Regions from separate parts of the Homo sapiens genome. Here regions 1, 2, 4, 5, 6 and 7 are each linked to region 3. The links are contacts of gene promoters, found by promoter capture Hi-C in blood cells and fetal thymus (Javierre and others, 2016). All regions are on one chromosome and are shown on one strand. Each heading gives the region's core, a stretch centred on a gene start or on the middle of the fragment in contact. The rest is flanking DNA. Distances are from core to core; before and after follow the strand shown.

Region 1 (2,700 bases), core at 171-2,670, 230 kb after region 3:
TGAGGCCAGGCATGGTGGCTCACACCTGTAATCCCAGCACTTTGGGAGGCCAAGGTGGGTGGGTCACCTGAGGTCAGGAGTTCAAGACCAGCCTGGCCAACATGGTGAAACCCTGTCTCTACTAAAAGTACAAAAAAGTTAGCTGGGCATGGGGGTGGGCATCTTAATCCCAGCTACTGAGGAGGCTGAGGCAGAATAATTGCTTGAACCTGGGAGGTGGAGATTGCAGTGAGCCGATATTGCATCACTGCACTCCAGCCTGGGCAACAGAGTGAGATTCTGTCTAAGAAAAAAAAAAAAATGGATCTAGTTAAGATCAGAAGTCTAGGGCTTCCATTTCAGAAATGTTTGGGGAGGGGCCATAGGAGATGGAGGATGGGGATGGATCCCTAATGAACAGACTAATGCCATCCTGAGGGAGTGAGTGCGTTCTCAATCTTCCAGGAATGGATTAGTTCCTGCAAGAGCAAGTAGTTAAAGAATCTGGCTTCCCCAGTTTCATTCTTTTTCTTGTCTTGTGATCTCTTTGCACTTTTCCTTCCCTTCTTTCCACCATGAGTGGAAGCTACCTAAGGCCCTCACCAGATGCAGCAGCCCAATCTTGGACTTTCCAGCCATCAGAATTGTGAGCCAAATAAACCTCTTTTCTTAATAAATTACCCATCTTCAGCTATTCTGTGATAGCAACACTAAAAGGACTAAGACGGGGCATTTTTAGAAACTGGTTTATTGAACTTTGAATTTTAAGTTGTATGTGTCCTAAGATGTGAGTCCTTCCAGGTACACTAAAGTTTCAGTAGTCTGTACACTATGAATAACTGTATGTGAGGAGGGTGTGTACATGTATGTATTATAGAAAAGGGCACAGTCCCAAGTCTAGGTTAGTGTGGCACAGGCCACAACAGCATGTGTGGGATTACGAAATGAACCCAAATGGAATGATTTCAGGCCCCTGCCCACCTCCAGGAACTCATGCCCCTCAACCTCTCCCCTTTATTCATGGTAGGCCATACTCACATTGGCTCAAATCCTGCGACCTAGGTTGGTCCAATTAGAGCAAAATTTAGGACTTTTTTCCAATAATTAGAGGGAGAGAAATACAATCTCTTTCTCTTCTGTTTGGAGCTACAGTAAGGAGCTTGAAGTGACTTTAAAACTATCAACTCCCCCACTTCTCACCCTGCATCAGGAGCTTCCAAAACCCTGGGTGAGGCAATGGCTTAGGGAAATTCTGTAGAATGGAGATTGGAAGTGCTATTACTTAGAATTTAGGAGTAAATCATCACCGGCTGACATCTCAGTTGTAAATGCTTTAGAGTTTATAAACTAATTTTGTATGTTTTATCTAAATATAAAGTGAAATCCAAAAAAAGGCCTTCCCTGAGAAATTACCACCCTCTGGTTTTGGAGTTGAAGACTTATTCTGAAGGGGTGTGAATTGCAAGATCTTTCTGAGATGCTATCTGGCAGTGTCTACTGCAATTTGAACATAGGTTTCCTCTGTCGCGTAAATCTTTTAGACCACTTTTAGAACTTTGTCCTACAAAATAAAACTGCCAGTACAGCAGGAGAGATGCACAGTAATTATTACAGGGTCATTTATAATAGTAGGAAACACACCAACAAACCAACAAAAATCCCTAAACCTGAAACAATTTGAATGTCCATCAACAGAAGACTGGTTAATAAAATCATGGCACCTCCACACAATAGGATGCTATGCAGCTGTTAAAAAAGAGTCAGAGCCATATCTCCTGAGCTGGAACAATGGCCAGGATATATTGTTAAATTTTTCAAAAGCTAATTGCTTGTCCCAGTTTTGTCTGGGGGAGAAAAGCCAATAGGGGAATGTGTATTCATAAGCATTACATTAAAAAAGCATGAATAAAAAAATCAATGATACACATCAAAATAGTAATCCTGAGAGTGGTGGGATTAGAAGGAAAGAGGAGAAGACCGTGAACTTTAAAATCTATATATTCCTATATAAAACTTTATATAGTGTGTGATTTGGTTCTATATTTATGCAATAAAGTAGAAAAATTTCCAACTTACTCTGAGGAGGAGCTGCCATTCCAAGCAGTGGGAAGTATGTTTCAGAGCTCTGTGGATGGCTGCTATTTTTCTCAGGGTCAAATCAGGACATCCAAATACCTGATTCTTTGCTCAGCCACCCAAGAAACATCTTCTGCACAACAGCGTGTGCGTGTGTATGTGTGTGTGGGTGTGTGGGTGGAAGGGGGGGCATACCTCCAGCCAGTCCCTATAAACCCCTCATCTCACACATCTTAATCCACAAAACCTCCAGGATAACCAAAAACAAACAAACAAACAAACAAACAAAAAAACATGGGTGGGGGTGCAGAACCACTGTTGGGAATGGAGTTCTAAAATGGAGGCTGAGTTTCCACACACAGAGGAAGTAGGTGGAAAATTTGACAAAACTCTGGAGATGGCTGGCAGAGACCCAGGAAAAATTAAATTATCTCCAGATTTGAGTTTTTCTGGTAGAGGCTTAAAATCTCCTCATCCCGTTGCATGGGGAGCACAGCTGGCAAAGGAGTGTTGTCCAACATTGGCCCCTGCTGGATTCTCCACTTCCTGTCCCTCCACTTCCTGTCTCTCTGCTTCCTATCTCTCCATTTCCTGTCTTTCTGCTTCTTGCCTGACTTGCCTCTCCTTAAGTATCCTAACCCGCTG
Region 2 (2,700 bases), core at 132-2,631, 210 kb after region 3:
CAAAAGCAGCATCTTCATTCGGCACAGAAGCTGACACAATAGGCGCATAATAAATGCCATCTCTCTTTATTTCATGTAGCTTATAACTAAATCCATGGATATAACCCCCTGTGGATCGTGATTTTTCTAAAGGGAAATTCACCTTCAGTTTCAGCTCGTTCATCAAGAGAAACACTTACCAGTATTACCAGAAACTGAAAACATAGTCCTCTAAGAACAAGGATTTGGAAACTTAGTCCTCTAAGAACAAGGAGTGATGCAAACTAAATTCTCATGAACCAACATGGAATGAGACAGCTACTAACCTGGGATTTTATTTTCTAATCAGACTCTTGTTTGGCAGGAGGTGGCCTTTCTGGGGTGTTGGTTACAGTCTATATCATGATTCATTTATGAGATTTCTTTGAGCTCTATTATCTGTATCCTTTTTTTTTGGCATATATTAAAAATTTTTTTAAAAAAGCAACATCTGGCTGGGCGCGATGGCTCGTGCCCATAATCCCAGCACTTTGGGAGGCCGAAGCGGGTGGATCACCTGAGGTCAGGAGTTTGAGACCAGCTTGGCCAACATGGTGAAACCCTGTTTCTACTAAAAATACAAAATTAGCCGGGCGTGGTGGTGCATGCCTGTAATCCCAGCTACTCAGGAGGCTGAGGCTGGAGAATAGCTTGAAACGAGGAGGTGGAGGTTGCAGTGAGCCAAGATCGCGCCATTGCACTGCAGCCTGGGTGACAAGAGTGAAACTCCGTCTCAAAAATAAATAAATAAATAAAATTAAAAAAATTAAAAAGCAACATTCCTCCATTCCTCAGCAATTTACTGTCCTAAGCCGGCATATTGGTTAAGACTACGATGTGGCAGAGACCACTAGGGGTCTCCCAATTTCACTCTCCTTTTCACATAGCCCGTTGGAATAAAAATAACATCTTCTAGCTTCTCCCACAACTGGGTGTGGCCTTGTGACAAGTTCTGGCCAATAGGATGTAAGGGAAGCATAGTGTACAACTTTCAATAAGTCCCCTTAAGGCAGGTGACATGCCCTTCTTTCCTTCATTTCTCCTTTTTTGCTGGCTTGAAGTAGATGAGATGGCTGGAGTGTGGCAGCTCTCTTGGTCCAGGAGGTGTAAATGGTGCTGCAGGTGGCAGCTCAGGGACGGCTGGTCCTGGGACTGTGGAGCTCCCACAGAAGCCCTGAACTGCTTCCCTCCAGCTCTCTCTTACAAGGGTCAGTAAACTTCTAGCTCACTTGAGTAACTATTTTGGGTTTTCTGTTATTTGTAGTCAAACTTAATCCATATGATAGGCACAAGAGTCAGCTGATTTTGAGAAGGGGGAAGAGAGAATGGATCAGCTTCAACTCCATTGGTAAATGCTTTGTTTCTTAAGCTGAATGGTGGGCATGCAGGTATGAATTATGTTATATTTTACACCTCTTTGGCATATCTAAGAATCACTTATTAGATCTTTTAAAAAGGCAATGGTAGAAGCAGTGTTAGAGCAAGACCATGAGTAGCACAGAAAAGAATCAAATAGAGGCAACTTTGGCTTCACCCAGGCTCTGCTCCCAGACTGGCTTTGGAGTTAGGGTCTGAATATAGCCTCTGAATAAGCCTCATGGACAGAAGAAACAAGACTTGAAAGGGCAAGGGTGGGTGTATTCATCCGTTTTCATGCTGTTGATAAAGACATACCCACGACTGGCCCAATTTACAAAAGAAAGAGGTTTAATTGGACTTACAGTTCCACGTGGCTGGGGAAGCCTTACAATCATGGCAGAAGGCAACAAGGAGCAAGTCATGTCTTACATGGATGGCAGCAGGCAGAGAGAGAGCTTGTGCAGGGAAACTCCCCCTTATAATAACCATCAGATCTCATGAGACTTATTCACTATCACGAGAACAGCACAGGAAAGACCTGCCCCCATGATTCAATTACCTCCCACCAGGTCCTTTCCACAACACGTGGGAATTCAGGATGAGATTTGGGTGGGGACACAGCAAAACCATATCAGTGGGTTCAGCCTGTGGGTACCAAAGCCAGGGTTTGGAAGCAAGAAGGGACAGGGAAAGAACCCAAGGTCTGGGCACCACTCTTTCCTCCACCTGCCTCAACCCAGGATGTTTTTGCTGTAGGCAAGTCCTGGAAGTCTCTTTTGACCACACCCTCCCACCCCCTCCTGTTCTCCACCAATCCCCACCTTCATTTTAAGGGATTTCATTGCAACCAGGTCAGCCAGATGTGATTAAAGTAAAACGTGGACATACTTGCCTCCTGGGCTCTAATCCTACCTCTCAGAGCCAGCCACAGTGAGCAGTAGAGCAAGCATGAGACCAAAGTAAAGGCTGGAACCCTAGAGGGACCAGGCAGACATCTCCAGCCACCGGTATCCTCTGCTGGGATCTGCCTCAGATGCCAGAGGCTGCACTGGCTGGGGAAAGGGCTTCAGCTGTAGTACTAGGGGAAGTACTAGGAACTCCTTGAACCTGTGACTCTGCTCACCTCTGGGATCAGGACATTTCGGGGAGGCAGGCATACCTCTTGCCTCACTGATCAAGATTCCTTCCTGGGGCCAGGGCTAGGACTGGGGCCCAGGTTGCTATGGAACACACAGTCCTTGTTTCCTGAACAGAATGGGAGTTCTATTCAGCAAGAAAGAGTGTAGAGGCATGGACTGGGGAAGGGGATGGCTGTGGGGTAGG
Region 3 (2,700 bases), core at 43-2,542:
GCACATCCTGTGACATCCTGGAGACCCATGTTCCTGACCTACTTACCTATTCAACCATCTCTTCTCACACATGGGGTAGCAATGAGAAGCACAGGGGGTCTCTGCAAGGGAGTAGGGAGGTGGAGAGAGCGGGGGCAGCCACACATCACACTGCTGTTCTCAGTGGCCTCCTGCTGTCAACAAGCTAACATTAATAAAACAAGCCCACTCTTCTGCTAAGAGACTGTGACAGGGTAACATTTATTCTAGGTAGCTTTTCAAGAAAACAGCTCTTGCTCCCACGGTCCCCTCGGAGGGCCTGCAGAGCTCCAGCGATGTCAGAGGGCATCTGTTTGTTTCTCCTTTGCTTATAAAAGGGACCTGGAAATCAAAGGCAGGCTCTTAGCCCTTAGCAGTGAGGATGACAGCTCTGCACCAGCCACACGCAGGCCCCTGGCTCTAGGAACCACCTCTCACCCAGACGCCCAGGCACAGCATGGTGGGGAGAGAGTACAGGACACAGGGCCTAGGCCTGCTGCCCCGCCCACAGCCCGCCCCCTAGCCCTTTCTCTGAGGCCAGGTGTACTCACCTAGCCTCCAGGGTCCCCTGCTCAGGTGGCCCCAGAGGCCCAAACCCACTGCTCCCACTTTCTGAGACCTGGGACCCTCACCTCCCCAACTCCCACCATAGGGCGACACTGAAAAGTGTCCCCTTCCCCCCCCCGTTTCCAAGTCACCAGCTTGAGGATGCCCAAGGCTCAAAGGCTCCTCCGAGTGGCACCCCGCATCGGGCTGCAGAGGTCGGAGAGGGGAGGGGATGGTGGGTGCAAAGGGTGGCTTCTTCAGGAAAGGGAAGCCTGTCCCTGGCTCCCAGCACCTGTCACCCCTGGCGATCTCACCCCGCGGCCATCATTCCCGTCCTCACGGCCCATTTCAGGGACACTGAGGCTCAAAGAGCCACGTGATTTATTCAAAGCAGCTCGAGCCACCACTTGGAGCCACAAGAAAGCCCTGGTCCGTGCCTCCTCGCCTTGGTCCCTGGCCCTTCACTCTTCGTCCAGGCTCTCTGACCTCTTTCCCTCTGCGCCCCTGCCTCTTCCCCAGGCCTGGGTCCCCAAGGCACTCGGCCACGCGCTGGGTCCGGGGAAGAGGCGCGGCCGCGGCCGAGGCGGGGACAGGGAGGCGGCAGCCCCTCCTGCGCAGCGACGGCGCGGGCGGGCGGAGGCCGGGGCGCCCCAGCCCCCCGCCCCCGCTCCCTCCGGCCGTGACGTCAGAGCCGGACGGGGTAAACTGAGCGGCGGCGGCGGGGCGCTGGGGCGGAGACTGCGACCCGGAGCCGCCCGGACTGACGGAGCCCACTGCGGTGCGGGCGTTGGCGCGGGCACGGAGGACCCGGGCAGGCATCGCAAGCGACCCCGAGGTAACACGGCCCCGGTTCCCTGCTCGCAGGGCGCGGTGCCGGAGGGGAGCGGGCCCGGGGGAGGCAGGGAGGCAGGGAGGCCCCCAGAGCTACGCGGGCGGGGCTGCGGGGACCCCGGGGCAGCCGGGGCGCAGGGCGCAGGGCGCAAGGTGCACGGGGCCGAGCGTGCAGTTTGGGAGGTGGCACAGTTGGGGGCGGCGGGGATCAGGGCAGCGTCCTGGGGGTTCTAGGTTGGGTCTCCAGATTGGGTCCCCGACGGCGCTCGCGGGCGCTCTTTCCAGGGAGCGCGGGCTCTCGTGGGGACGCGCTCGAGGCAGGTGAGCCGAGGCTGGGGCGCCCGGGGGTGTCCCCGGATGCCGGTGCGCGCGGCTCCCTGACCCGCCCTTCCGCGGCCTGGGGGACGGGAGAATGGGGGGTCCACGGCCGCCTTGGGTCCTCACCGCGCACCGCGCCCGCAGCGGAGCCCCGGAGCCATGGCCCTGAGCGAGCTGGCGCTGGTCCGCTGGCTGCAGGAGAGCCGCCGCTCGCGGAAGCTCATCCTGTTCATCGTGTTCCTGGCGCTGCTGCTGGACAACATGCTGCTCACTGTCGTGGGTACGTGCGGACAGGGCACCCCTGCCCCGGCACCCCAGCCCCAGCGCCCCTTCCCCGGCACTCCACTTACCCCTGCGCGGTCCCGGAGCTCCGCCAAGGCCCGGGAAAGTTGGAGAACTCGCTTTGCAAAAAAGACATCCCCTCCAGGCTGCCGCGCCGGGGCTAGGAGGAGCCGCGTTGTGTGGCTTCGCTTTCCTGATGCTCGGGTCAAAAACTGTGACATCCGATAAGACCCAGAACTTATGTTTCCCCCTGATAATTTCCCGCATCCTCTTGCCTGCTTTCACTGCGATGAAAAAGATTTCTGTTCCAAAAGAGAAATTCCTAAAGTTCAAAATTACGTGTTAGAATAATTATTGGGCTACTCGAAAAGGCAGGTTAGTAATTTGGTGTAGTACCTAAAAGAGCAAGTTTCGATCCCTTACTCCAAAAACAAGACATTTAGATATACTGTATTAGTGAATGACTTGAGATGGAAATATTTCAGGAACCATTGCAAGAACAATTTGAACAATCTTGGTTCTATTATTTTTCCTATAGTGGAATTTTGAAAAATTAAATAATCGAAATCCAGGTCCCTTAATTAGGCCCATTAACAGAGAAGTATTTGGCATGCATTTCCTTAAAAAAAAAAATCCCAGTTTTTAATGAATGAAAAAAAAATCACGACTCATTTAGACTGTAAGTGGTGGGAGCTGTTTCCTTTC
Region 4 (2,700 bases), core at 145-2,644, 200 kb after region 3:
TACATAGAGAAAGACATAAAGAGTGATTTACTGAACACCCATGTTCCTATCATCCACCTTGATTTTTTAAAATACAGATATATTAGAAAGCTTTTATTCATCCCTCCCCTGCTTCCGAGGTGAATTATGAAGGAGATGTTCATCATTCCCAGGAATGTCTTGATGCTGTTGCCGTTTGTGTATGAATCTCTAGGTAATACATAATCTTTTATATGTTTTAAAACTCTGTGGGCTGGGCAAGATGACTCATGCCTGTAATCCCAGCACTTTGGGAGGCTGAGGCAGGAGGATCACTTGAGCCCAGGGGTTAGAGACCAGCCTGGGCAATATAGTGAGACCCTGTCTCTACAAAAATAAAAAATTTGCTGCATGTGGTGGTACATGCCTGTAGTCCCAGCTACTTGGGAGGCTGGGGTGGGAGAACCACTTGAGCCTGGGAAGTTGAGGCTGCTGTAAGCTATGAGTGCCATGGCACTTCAGCCTGGGTGACAGAACAAGACTCTGTCTCAAAAAATTTTTTTTGGTATGTACATAACATCATAGTGTATCATTCTTCTGCTTTTTCACTCAACACAATGCTTGACATCAAATGTGAGATTTGCACGTTTTTACCTGCAGCTCAAGTTCATTTATCTCCTTCCAGTGTAAGGTTGAAACTCCTGCTCCCAAAATGTAAGAAGTGGAGGGAGAGAGACTCTTTGTGACTGAACTGTTTGCCCCTACTTTTTTCCAGCCATCCTCATTTTCTGGAGAGGCAGCGTGACCTAACGACGAAAGCCTCCACAACTGGTTTCTGTCGGTGTGAGTCCCAAATCTGCCACTGGCTGGCTGGGAAACCTTGGGTAAGCTACTTAACCACTCTGTGCCTCAGTTTCCTTGTCTGTAACATGAGAACAAGAATGCCTTCTACCTACTTCATAGCATTGTTTCTAAAACACTTAGTGCAGTTGCTGGTTTGTAGTGCAGTATTGGTAAGGTTAGCTATTACTCTTTTATTTGAGTTGTTTACAAGCAGATGGTATGGAACACAGCTCCATGAAGTATGGTCCCAATCACTAGGGCCTGATCCCTGCCTTGCAGGGAAGGGCAGCTACACAGTCTGGGATTCTCTGCATTTGAGAAAGCTGGGTAGCTGACATTAGGAAAGCTGATTGTTTGCTTGTTCTGTTTGATATTTTGCCAGTGGCTTCTGGCACAGCCGTGAAGACAGGGTTCCCAGTTTCTCATCCATCACCACCTTTGATCTACCCAGCTCCCTCCATGCCATCTTTATTATTGTTCCCATCACACAGATGAGTAAATGGGCTCAGAGATGTGAGGTGACCTGCCAATAATAGGTGGCATCCCTGAGACTGGAACCAAGTCTGCTCATTCTTAATCCTGGGGCCTTTAGCCATAGAGTGGGCCTCTCCAACTACTACTGATTGTTTTCTTGCTTGAGGGCAGGGACAGGACCCTGGGGCTCAGAAAGGAAGAGAGGCACTTTTCAGGGCCACTCGCCCTGTCACAAGTATGATCTGCTGTTGGCCTTGCGTCCCCAGCGATCAGATGGAAGAGAGCCAGTTTAGAACTAGAGGGGGTTTTATATGTGCTTTTTTTGCTTCTGTTTTTCCTTGAACACTTTAATTGAGTGGTTAAAATCTACCTTCCGGCCAGGCGTGGTGGCTCACGCCTGTAATCCCAGCACTTTGGGAGGCTGAGGTGGGCGGATCATGAGGTCAGGAGTTGAGAGCATCCTGGCCAACATGGTGAAACCCTGTCTCTACTAAAATACAAAAAATTAGCCAGCCATGGTGGTGCACACCTGTAGTCCCAGCTACCTGGGAGGCTGAGGCAGGGGAATTGCTTGAACCTGGGAGGTGGAGGTTGCAGCGAGCCGAGATCGCACCACTGCACTCCAGCCTGGGTGACAGAGCAAGGCTCTGTCTCAAAAAAAAAAAAAAAAAAAAAAAGCGTACCTTCCAAATTCCTAACAAGCTGCATGGCAAGTAGGATGAGTGTCAGGGGAATCTGTGGGTAGGTGATGACTGTGGAGGCGGATGGTGGTCAGCCCATGTGGCTTTCATTCATCCAGACATGCAAGTTTTGGCTTGCCTCACCTTGAGCTGGAGTTTTCTCAGAGGAAAATATGTCAAGGTAGACAGATTCTCTCCTTTATGAGATGTCATATGACTATTTTTGCATGCAGTTATTTCTTTTCTTTTCTTTTTTTTTTGAGACGGAGTCTTGCTCTGTCCCCCAGGCTGGAGTGTAGTGGCACGATCTCAGCTCACTGCAAGCTCTGCCTCCCAGGTTCACACCATTCTCCTGCCTCAGCCTCCTGAGTAGCTGGGACTACAGGTGCCCACCAACACGCCCGGCTAATTTTTTGTATTTTTAGTAGAAACAGGGTTTCACCGTGTTAGCCAGGATGGTCTTGATCTCCTGACCTTGTGATCCGCCCGTCTTGGCCTCCCAAAATGCTGAGATTACAGGCATGAGCCACTGTGCCCAGCTGCAGTTATTTCTTTTTAAACTAATTCATAATGGCAGAGCTCACCACCATAATCAGTTTCTGTTTCCATTATAAATCCAATTTTGGAGGGTAATGGTGTCTGCCATTTCATCTTGCTTAGGGCTTCAGCTTTATATTCTCTCTCTCTCTCTCTCTCCTCTCTCTCTCTTAAAGGAAGCAGTTGCATGCATGTTTAAAGAAACTAA
Region 5 (2,700 bases), core at 104-2,603, 130 kb after region 3:
ACATAGTTATTAATGACCCATTCCACTAAAGCAAACTATCCACCAAACTCGAACAAAAAGGAGACACTATCTACTTACCATCACTACATGGTAGAAAAATGGATTGCATTTCAAGGCATTTTTTTTTTTCTGGCAGAGTGACTTTTTAAAATTCAACATTATATTGACAATGTTTTTTTTTTTTTTTTTTTTTTTTGAGACAGTCTCACTCTGTTGCCCAGACTGGAATACAGTGGCGCAATCTTGGCTCACTGCAACCTCCGCCTCCTGGGTTCAAGCAATTCTCATGCCTCAGCATCCCCAGCAGCTGGGACTGCAGGTGCGTGCCATTTTTAGTAGAAGCGGGGTTTCACCATGTTGGCCAGGCTGGTCTCGAACTCCTGACCTCAAGTGATCCACCCACCTTGGCCTCCCAAAGTGCTGAGATTACAGGCATCAGCCACCACGCCAGGCCTGACAATGTCTTTTATTTATTTATTTATTTATTTTTACTTTTTGAGATAGAGTCTTGCTCTGTTGCCCAGGCTGGAGTGCAGTGGTATGATCTCGGCTTGCAGCAATCTCTGCCTCTCGGGTTCAAGCGATTCTCCTGCCTCAGCCTCCTGAGTAACTGGAATTACAGGCATGTGCCACCATGCCCAGCTAATTTTTGTATTTTTAGTAAAGATGGGGTTTCGCCATGTTGACCAGGCTGGTCTCGAACTCCTGACCTCAAGTGATCCGCCTGCCTTGCCCTCCCAAAGTGCTGGGATTACAGGAGTGAGCCACCGCACCTGGCCAACAATGTCTTTTAAAAAATAAAATTGCTCTATGACAGTCCCTTCAAAAATGTAATTAAAAGAAGGATAAAAATGATCACTCTCCCTCTCCACTCCAGCTATTAAGTCTTCTCATTTTCACTAATCAGCAACAGTAATGCTCCCTATTTACTCCTCCAGTACGGGTCTCAAATTCATATAACTCCAAGCCAGGCAAGTACCATCAATTAAGCACAGCAAATAAGGGGGGACTATAAACTCCACCTAGGAGCTTACACACCGAGTTTCAACCCCAAAGCTGCTACTACAGTCCATCTCTCCATCCTGTTGTTGCTCTGAGAAATGCAGCACTGGCGCTACAAGATATTCCAATTTTTCCTAACAGAAGCCACAAATCCAAAACACACAGAATTTTCCATTTTTTAAACAGTGCAGGCCAAATTAAAAGTACCTGCAAACTGAATCTGCTTGTCTATATACAATAATACTCCAGGAACACAAGCATCCGTAAGAATCTCAAATATTTGACTCCTAAACCCTAAACAGAGCTCCCCACCCAGACACTATTACTCAGACTCCATGTTTAAGATGAATTATCCACGTAGTAAAAGAACATTAGTGGTAATCTTTCTCCCTTGAGGATGGATTCTGAGGTTCATTTAAAAAAATATATTGCTATTATAATATACTATTTTAATTAAAAAATCAAACCAATTAACATTGAGGTGGATGAATGAAATTCCTAACTTGAATAAATCTGTAAACATATTGTCTACATATTATAATTCATTTTGTAAAATAAAATGTTTTACAAACATTGTAAGTTTGTTAACTTGGGTAAAATGAAATGTCAGTCAGCTGGGTCCTTAGAAAGCAACCACTTGAGCAACTTAGCATCTCTAGGTGAAACATCAGGAACTGGCAGTCCAGAGAGGCTGATTCACTTTAGCAACACGAAAAAGGCAAAATAAATGAAGGGGGAAAGAAGTAATAACAACGTTAACTGGCAAGATATTTGTTATGTAATGATTACAAATGCCAAAGGATCGTAAGACTCCATACAATTCTCTTTACTGCTTTAGCTCTACTAAGAAGATTAGATAGCTAAAAAAGAATAAACTAGGCCGGGCACAGCGGCTCACACATGTAACCCCAGCACTTTGGGAGGCCGAGGTGGGTAGACTGCCTGAAGTCAGGAGTTCGAAACCAGCCTGGCCAACATGGTGAAACCTGTCTCTTCTATTTGGAAACACAATTCTGCTCAATTAAAAAAGAAATGCCACGTGGGACAGTACCCAAAGATTTAGCCTCATGATTTACTTTTAAAAGGATCCTCTAAAATGACCAATTTAAGAAAAAAAAATCAGCTTTATAGTCATACTCTTCTCAAGAGTTCTAGGTTAGTTTGGAAAGATATCCCACATATTTACTATATCGATGGCATGCTTTTAAAAAATAAATCACTTAAGAACAACATAGTTTGTGTGTGTGTGTGTGTGTGTGTGTGTGTGTGTGTTTAAAGGTGGCCTGGCCTTATCAGAGCTGCGTTTCAACACTTGAAAGCTGTGTGACTTTAAGCAAGTTATTTAACTACTCCGAGCTCCATTTCCTCATCTGTAAAAAAAGATGAACACTAGCTAGTTTAATTTTCCCTGTGAGAAGTATGCTATATCTTAGATGTATTGTAATTCATTCTTATCTGAAACTTGAATCAGTCCCACATCATCACCAGTTTGTTTATTTATTTATTTACTTATTTATTTTGGAGACGGAGTCTCACCCTGTCGCCCAGGCTGGAGTGCAGTGGTGCGATATCGGCTGGCTGCAACCTCTGCCTCCCAGGTACAAGCCATTTTCCTGCCTCAGCCTCCAGAGTAGCTGGGATTACAGGCGCCCGCCACCACGCCCAGCTAATTTTTGCATTTTTACTAGAGACGGGGTT
Region 6 (2,700 bases), core at 98-2,597, 150 kb after region 3:
CCCAGAGAATGGGGATGATCTTGGCAAGGAAACCCAGAGAGATGCTGTGGCCTCTCTCAAGCTACCCAGCAAGACAGTATCACAGCCCGGATCATAATCCTGGGGTCCTAACTCCTGGTGTCTCTTTTTCATCTTGTCCTCATACTTTTTCCATGCTCGCTTCACAAAATATTGGTTATTTTCTCTTTCTCAATGGAAGTGAAAAACTGACTCTAATAACACTTTCAGGAGAGTCTAACAATAGCTGTAAATTCTATCTGCTTTACACTTTAATACTGTTACTTACCAGTCTCAAAACTGCTTATCTTTCATTTGAGGCTGTTTGCTAATTTCCATTCTCCTTCACTACAATTCAGAACCTGAACTAAACCCTGGAGTTGTGAGGCTTCGCAGAAGGTCATTTTGATGGGTCCCCTTCCTGGGACAACAATAATCAAACCGTTTTTAGATAGCCGAGGCCTTAAATCAGCATTTATATTCCTCGTAAATTGTTGTGCAAGCCAGTCCACTTCTCTCCATCCCCTGAAATACCCCAGTCTGGGCCATTGTTATCTCTTGCTTTAATCCTGCCATTGCCTCCTAATTGGTCTACCTACCTTCGGCTTTCCTCGCCTTACTTTATTCTCTACTCTGCCCTCAGGACACATTAAGCTGATTCCTCCTTAAAGTTTTTCTACAGCTGCCCTTAGGCTTAAGGATGAAGTACTAGTTCCCAGTAACATCCTTCAGGCCTTTCACAATCCATCCCTTCACTTTCCCCTTTCCCCGTCACAGAGTTTGCTCCAGCCTGCCTGAGCTCTTGTGCTTCCTCCTGTGCTGACTTCTTTCTGGTATCTCCAGGCCTTTGCACATGCTGCTTCTTCCACCTGAAACTCTCTGCCTCTTCTCTTTGCAGGTAACCCTACCCTTAAAGTGTAGACTGAAATCTTCCTCTTTAGGAGACTCCCCTGGCCCTAACCAAGGCTTATCCCTTGCTATATCCTCATATAACATCCAATATATGTTCCCTCATCCTGGTGCTTATGGCAGAGACTGCTACTTGCTTCGTCCATATCCATTCACTCATTTCAAAGAAGAATTTGGGAACAGCAAATTGTTCAGATTTTAAAAATGACATTTCCCAACCAGCCTTGCAGATAAGAGTGGCCAATGAGATATAAGCAAAATTTTTGGGTGGGAGCTCAACAAAGGATTTTGATTTATTATCTCCATATCTCTTTTGTACTTCCCTCTCCCTCCCCTGGCCTGGAATTCAGATGTGATGGCTGGAACTTCAGTGGCCACTTTATAATCATGTGGTAACCTTGAGGATAGATGCCACACACTGAAGATGGTTGAGCAGAAAGACAGAATAAGCTCAGAACACTGATGACACTGAAGCTGAACTCAACTTTGCAATACCCACCTTGGAACTTTTTTTTTACATAAAAAAATTCCCCTTAAGCTGTCAAACTACTATTACAGGTCTCTGTTACTAGCAGCCAAATACACTCCTGACACAGTATTCACCACACTTTACTATCATCACTTGTACAATGTGTGTCTTGTAAACCACAGTTTCCCAGCACTCAGCACAGGGCCTCGCCCATAGTAAGTACTCAACTGGTATTTATTAAGTGAATGAATTTACATGACCTACTCTCCACTTTGGTGAGAAAGAGCCACCTTCTCCTGAAGCCCTAAGACCACTTGTTTGAAGGAAGAGGCTTTGTAGAGGGGAGCCAACACTGACACCAGAACGTCCTATCATGCTGGGAGAGGAGGGATCACTGCTGGCTCTGCTCCTCTGGCAAAGCCAGGGAAGGTAAGTAACTCTGGAAGAGAATAACATTGCTGCAGCAGCAACATGCTTGGAGATGGCAAGTCCTTGAGACTGCCAGTGGATCTAAATCTACTGTGTGGAGATCAGTGTAACTTTTGGGGCCCAAGAGCATATTCACCTCATCTCTACTTTCATTCAGTCCTTAGGTGATCTCATCCAGCCTCCTACCTTTAAATGCTATTCATATGTGTATGCTTCCAAATGCATTTACTCACTCTGAGCTCCTCTAGGAAACCCATATATCCAACAGCCTACCAGCCATCTCCACCTTGGTGTGAGATGACTTACTGTGTGTAAGACTGAGCGAATATCCATCCCATGAGAGTTCCTTGGGCATTTCCCGCCATATTTATCAATGGTACCTCTGTCATTCCAGTTGCTCAGGCCAAAAGCCTTGTGCTATCCTTGACTCCTTTCTCTCTTATCTGCATTCACACTTGCAACACATCCTATTGGTTTTACCCTCAAAATATATTCAGAGTTTCACCACTTCTCACCGCATTCACTATCATGGTTCAAGCACCATATTTGGCCTGATTATTGGAGTGGTCTCTTAGTTGGCCTCTCTACTTAAAGGTCTCTCTGGCCTTTGCTACCCTAATGTCTGTTTCAACACAGACACCACAGTGACCATGGTAAACCACAAGTCGGATCATGCCACTCAACTGTTTGAAACGTACCAGTGGTTTCTTGTGGGGGGGCCCAGAATAATGGCCCCCAAAGTTGTCCACATCCTAATCCCCAAAACCTGTGGATATATTACGTTACGTGGCAAAGGGGCGTTACTGTTGTGGGAGGAATTAAGGTTGCTAATCACCTGATCTTCAGATAAAGAGATTATTCTGAATTATCCAACTGGACCCAATGTAATCACAAAG
Region 7 (2,700 bases), core at 31-2,530, 180 kb after region 3:
ACCAACATAAAGAAACTCCTTTTCTACTAAAAATACAAAATTAGCCAGGCATGACGGCACATGCCTGTAATCTTAGCTACTCAGGAGGCTGAGGCAGGAGAATCGCTTGAATCCGGGAGGCGGAGGTTGCAGTGAGCCGAGATCGTGCGATTGCACTCTAGCCTGGGCAACAAGAGTGAAACTCCATCTCAAAAAAAAAAAAAAAAGAAAGAAAGAAAATAAAATAGCCAAGCATACACAAGAGCAGACAAGATGGTAAAATGAACCTCCATACATCTATCACTCAGGGACTCAGCATTTATCAAGATTTTGCTACATTTGCTTTCTAGTCTCGTTTTTAACTTTTACTTTGATGTATAATTTGTACACAGTAAAATTCATCAACCAATTTAAAGTGTATGGTTTGATGAATTTTTAAACTTTTATTATTTTGAAATAATTTCATACTTACAGAAAGTTGTAAAATAATACAAAGAATTTCCATATACCCTTCACTAAGATTCCCCAAGTGTTAACATTTTATCATTCTTGTTTTTATCATTACTCATCAAACTTTATCCACATACACATTGTTAATATTTTTCTGAATACACACACTGTTAAAAAAACAATTATGCCAGGTGCAGTGGCTCACACCTGTTATCCCAATACTTTGGGAGGCTAAGGTGGGAGGATCACTTGAGCACGGGAGTTCAAGACCAGCCTAGGCAACATAGTGAGACCTTGTGTCTACTGAAAAAGAAAAAGTAGCCAGGCGTGGAGGCTGAAGTGGGAGGATCACTTGAGCCTGGGTGATGGAGGCTGCAGTAAGCTATGGTTGTGCCACTTCACTCTAGCCTGGATGACAGAGTGAGACCTTGTCTTAAAAAAAAGAAAGAAAGAAAGAAAGAAAGAAATAATTATTCAATGATACTTGTCAAAACACACTAAGGAACACTTTATTCAGGACCATAGGTATAGGGGCCACTGTAACAGGGTCTTGCAGTGAGAGAGAGAGATTGAACTTAATTCTGAATACAACATGGGCAGGTGGGAGTTTACAGCCCAGAAGCACTGTGGGGTCAATGGATGGAAAATTACTAAGAGGAAACAGCAAGGGTAAGGGAGATTCTAGCTAAACGAACCTAACACTATTCTTGCTAAAGATAGGCCAACTTGATCAGACATCACCTGCGGAATGCTGGAGGTTGGTCAGATGTCAAGGATAGGGGTTTCTTGCTAAACTGACTTAGTGAGGTTCTTTGCTAAAACTGGACCTTATAGGAAGCACACAGATGGGCCTAGGAGGAGAATCAGAAGCCTGAATAAAGTTTGGCTAAGCAAAGAATCTTTGTCAACATGCTATTATTATTTTTCTGAACCATTTGCAGGTTAATGAATTTTCACAAATGTTTATGTCCATGTTATCAGCACTCAAATCAAGTTGTAGAACATTTCCAGTACTCCAGAAAGTTCCCTTGATACCCTTTTCCAAAGGCAATCAATGATCTTATTTTTTTTAATCACCATAGATTTGTTCTGCCTCTTCCTGACCTTAATGTAAATGGAATAACTCCTGTCTTTATTTTTGCTGAATTACTTTAAAGCCTATCCTAGGCCTCATGTTATTTCATCTTTACATACTCAGTAAGTATTTCTAAAAGTTATAGGCATTTTCTTAAGTAATCATGATGCCATTGTGGTTATATAAAATGTCTTCATACCAACTGCCTATGATTATTTCCTTTTTTTTTTTTTTTGAAACAGAGTCTTGCTCTGTCACCCAGGCTGGAGTGCAGTGGCATGATCTTGGCCCACTGCAACCTCTGCCTCCTGGGCTCAAGCCATTCTCCTGTCTCAGCCTCCGGAGTAGCTGGGATTACAGGCATGTGCCAGCATGCCTGGCTAATTTTTGTATTTTTAGTAGAGATAGGGTTTCACCATGTTGGCCAGGCTGGTCTCCAACTCCTGACCTCCGGTGATCTTCCCACGTTGGCCTCCCAAAGTGCTGGGATTACAGGCATGAAACATCGCACCTGGCCAATTATTTCCATTTTACAGGTGAGTACACGAGCTCAAGGAGGTGGAAAAATGTGCTCAGGGTCACCCAGGAAGTGACTGCAGAAGCAGGCAATCTCCCTGCAGAGCCTTACTTGACACTGCTTAGTCTCTGCTGCTGTTCTCAGTGCGGGTCCCCGGCGGAGGTTTTGGCTGCCTGGGGGACCAAGGAGTGGCTGACATCTCTGACGACCCTTTCTTGTGCTTTGTGTGGTCCCTCTCAGCTGGGGCCCTATAACACATGGCAATCCATAAATGCACTCACAGTGGCCCTTTGAGCCCCCCAGCCCACAGGCACACTCACTTATGCCACTATTTTTAGAGATGCCGCCTGCTGCCTTTCAAAAGACCAAAGAAAGGAAATAGCCCTGCAGTGGCTAAACAGATGGAGACCTGGTGGATGTGTTTGAAGGCTGCTGAGAGCTTCTCATTCCCACAGTCTAGACTTCGGAAAGGTGCAGAGACAAGTTAAGCCATCAAAATGCAGAAAAGACATATTCCTTTCATATTTTAGATCATAGTTGCAAATGAGTCCTAATAACACACAAATCCCTATTTGTATAAAAACATGTAAGTAAAACTGACGGTAACCTGTTCTTCCAGGAGACAGTTAGGTAGAAACAAGCCTAAAAGGATATGTTTCCCCCCCCTTGGAAGCCCAGC

What was found. Contacts are between HindIII fragments. The CHiCAGO score rates a contact against its expected background, and 5 or more counts as called.
Region 1: a fragment that was not itself captured here is called in contact with the fragment with the promoter of SLC18A2 in region 3 in 1 of 17 cell types (neutrophils); the score reaches 6.5 in neutrophils.
Region 2: a fragment that was not itself captured here is called in contact with the fragment with the promoter of SLC18A2 in region 3 in 2 of 17 cell types (neutrophils and megakaryocytes); the score reaches 12.4 in neutrophils.
Region 4: a fragment that was not itself captured here is called in contact with the fragment with the promoter of SLC18A2 in region 3 in 2 of 17 cell types (neutrophils and megakaryocytes); the score reaches 10.0 in neutrophils.
Region 5: a contact is called between a fragment that was not itself captured here and the fragment with the promoter of SLC18A2 in region 3, in 2 of 17 cell types (neutrophils and fetal thymus). The highest score is 17.2, in neutrophils.
Region 6: a contact is called between a fragment that was not itself captured here and the fragment with the promoter of SLC18A2 in region 3, in 1 of 17 cell types (neutrophils). The highest score is 15.4, in neutrophils.
Region 7: a fragment that was not itself captured here is called in contact with the fragment with the promoter of SLC18A2 in region 3 in 1 of 17 cell types (neutrophils); the score reaches 18.2 in neutrophils.

What each region holds. Positions count from the first base shown.
Region 1 is chr10:117,474,302-117,477,001 of GRCh38, forward strand. No RefSeq gene overlaps it. Among named protein-coding and RNA genes, the nearest start is that of EMX2, 67 kb to the right of the region's middle. The HindIII fragment of the contact is 3,930 bases long and covers 1-2,700 here.
Region 2 is chr10:117,451,878-117,454,577 of GRCh38, forward strand. The region is part of intron 1 of LOC105378502 (a long non-coding RNA gene); the gene reads left to right. Among named protein-coding and RNA genes, the nearest start is that of PDZD8, 78 kb to the left of the region's middle. The HindIII fragment of the contact is 6,683 bases long and covers 1-2,700 here.
Region 3 is chr10:117,239,822-117,242,521 of GRCh38, forward strand. SLC18A2 (solute carrier family 18 member A2) reads left to right here and starts at 1,293. Exons shown (of 16, transcript NM_003054.6): 1 at 1,293-1,399; 2 at 1,858-1,993. The coding sequence starts at 1,873. SLC18A2-AS1 (SLC18A2 antisense RNA 1) reads right to left here and starts at 2,176. Exons shown (of 3, transcript NR_184310.1): 1 at 2,064-2,176; 2 at 1,840-1,962; 3 at 1-360. The HindIII fragment of the contact is 8,499 bases long and covers 1-2,700 here.
Region 4 is chr10:117,435,483-117,438,182 of GRCh38, forward strand. It overlaps LOC105378502 (a long non-coding RNA gene), which reads left to right and starts at 749. Exons shown (of 3, transcript XR_946344.1): 1 at 749-842. The HindIII fragment of the contact is 2,613 bases long and covers 89-2,700 here.
Region 5 is chr10:117,368,680-117,371,379 of GRCh38, forward strand. All of the region lies in intron 1 of PDZD8 (PDZ domain containing 8), which reads right to left. Among named protein-coding and RNA genes, the nearest start is that of PDZD8, 5.4 kb to the right of the region's middle. The HindIII fragment of the contact is 3,952 bases long and covers 1-2,700 here.
Region 6 is chr10:117,388,236-117,390,935 of GRCh38, forward strand. No RefSeq gene overlaps it. Among named protein-coding and RNA genes, the nearest start is that of PDZD8, 14 kb to the left of the region's middle. The HindIII fragment of the contact is 5,132 bases long and covers 1-2,700 here.
Region 7 is chr10:117,414,990-117,417,689 of GRCh38, forward strand. No RefSeq gene overlaps it. Among named protein-coding and RNA genes, the nearest start is that of PDZD8, 41 kb to the left of the region's middle. The HindIII fragment of the contact is 6,430 bases long and covers 1-2,700 here.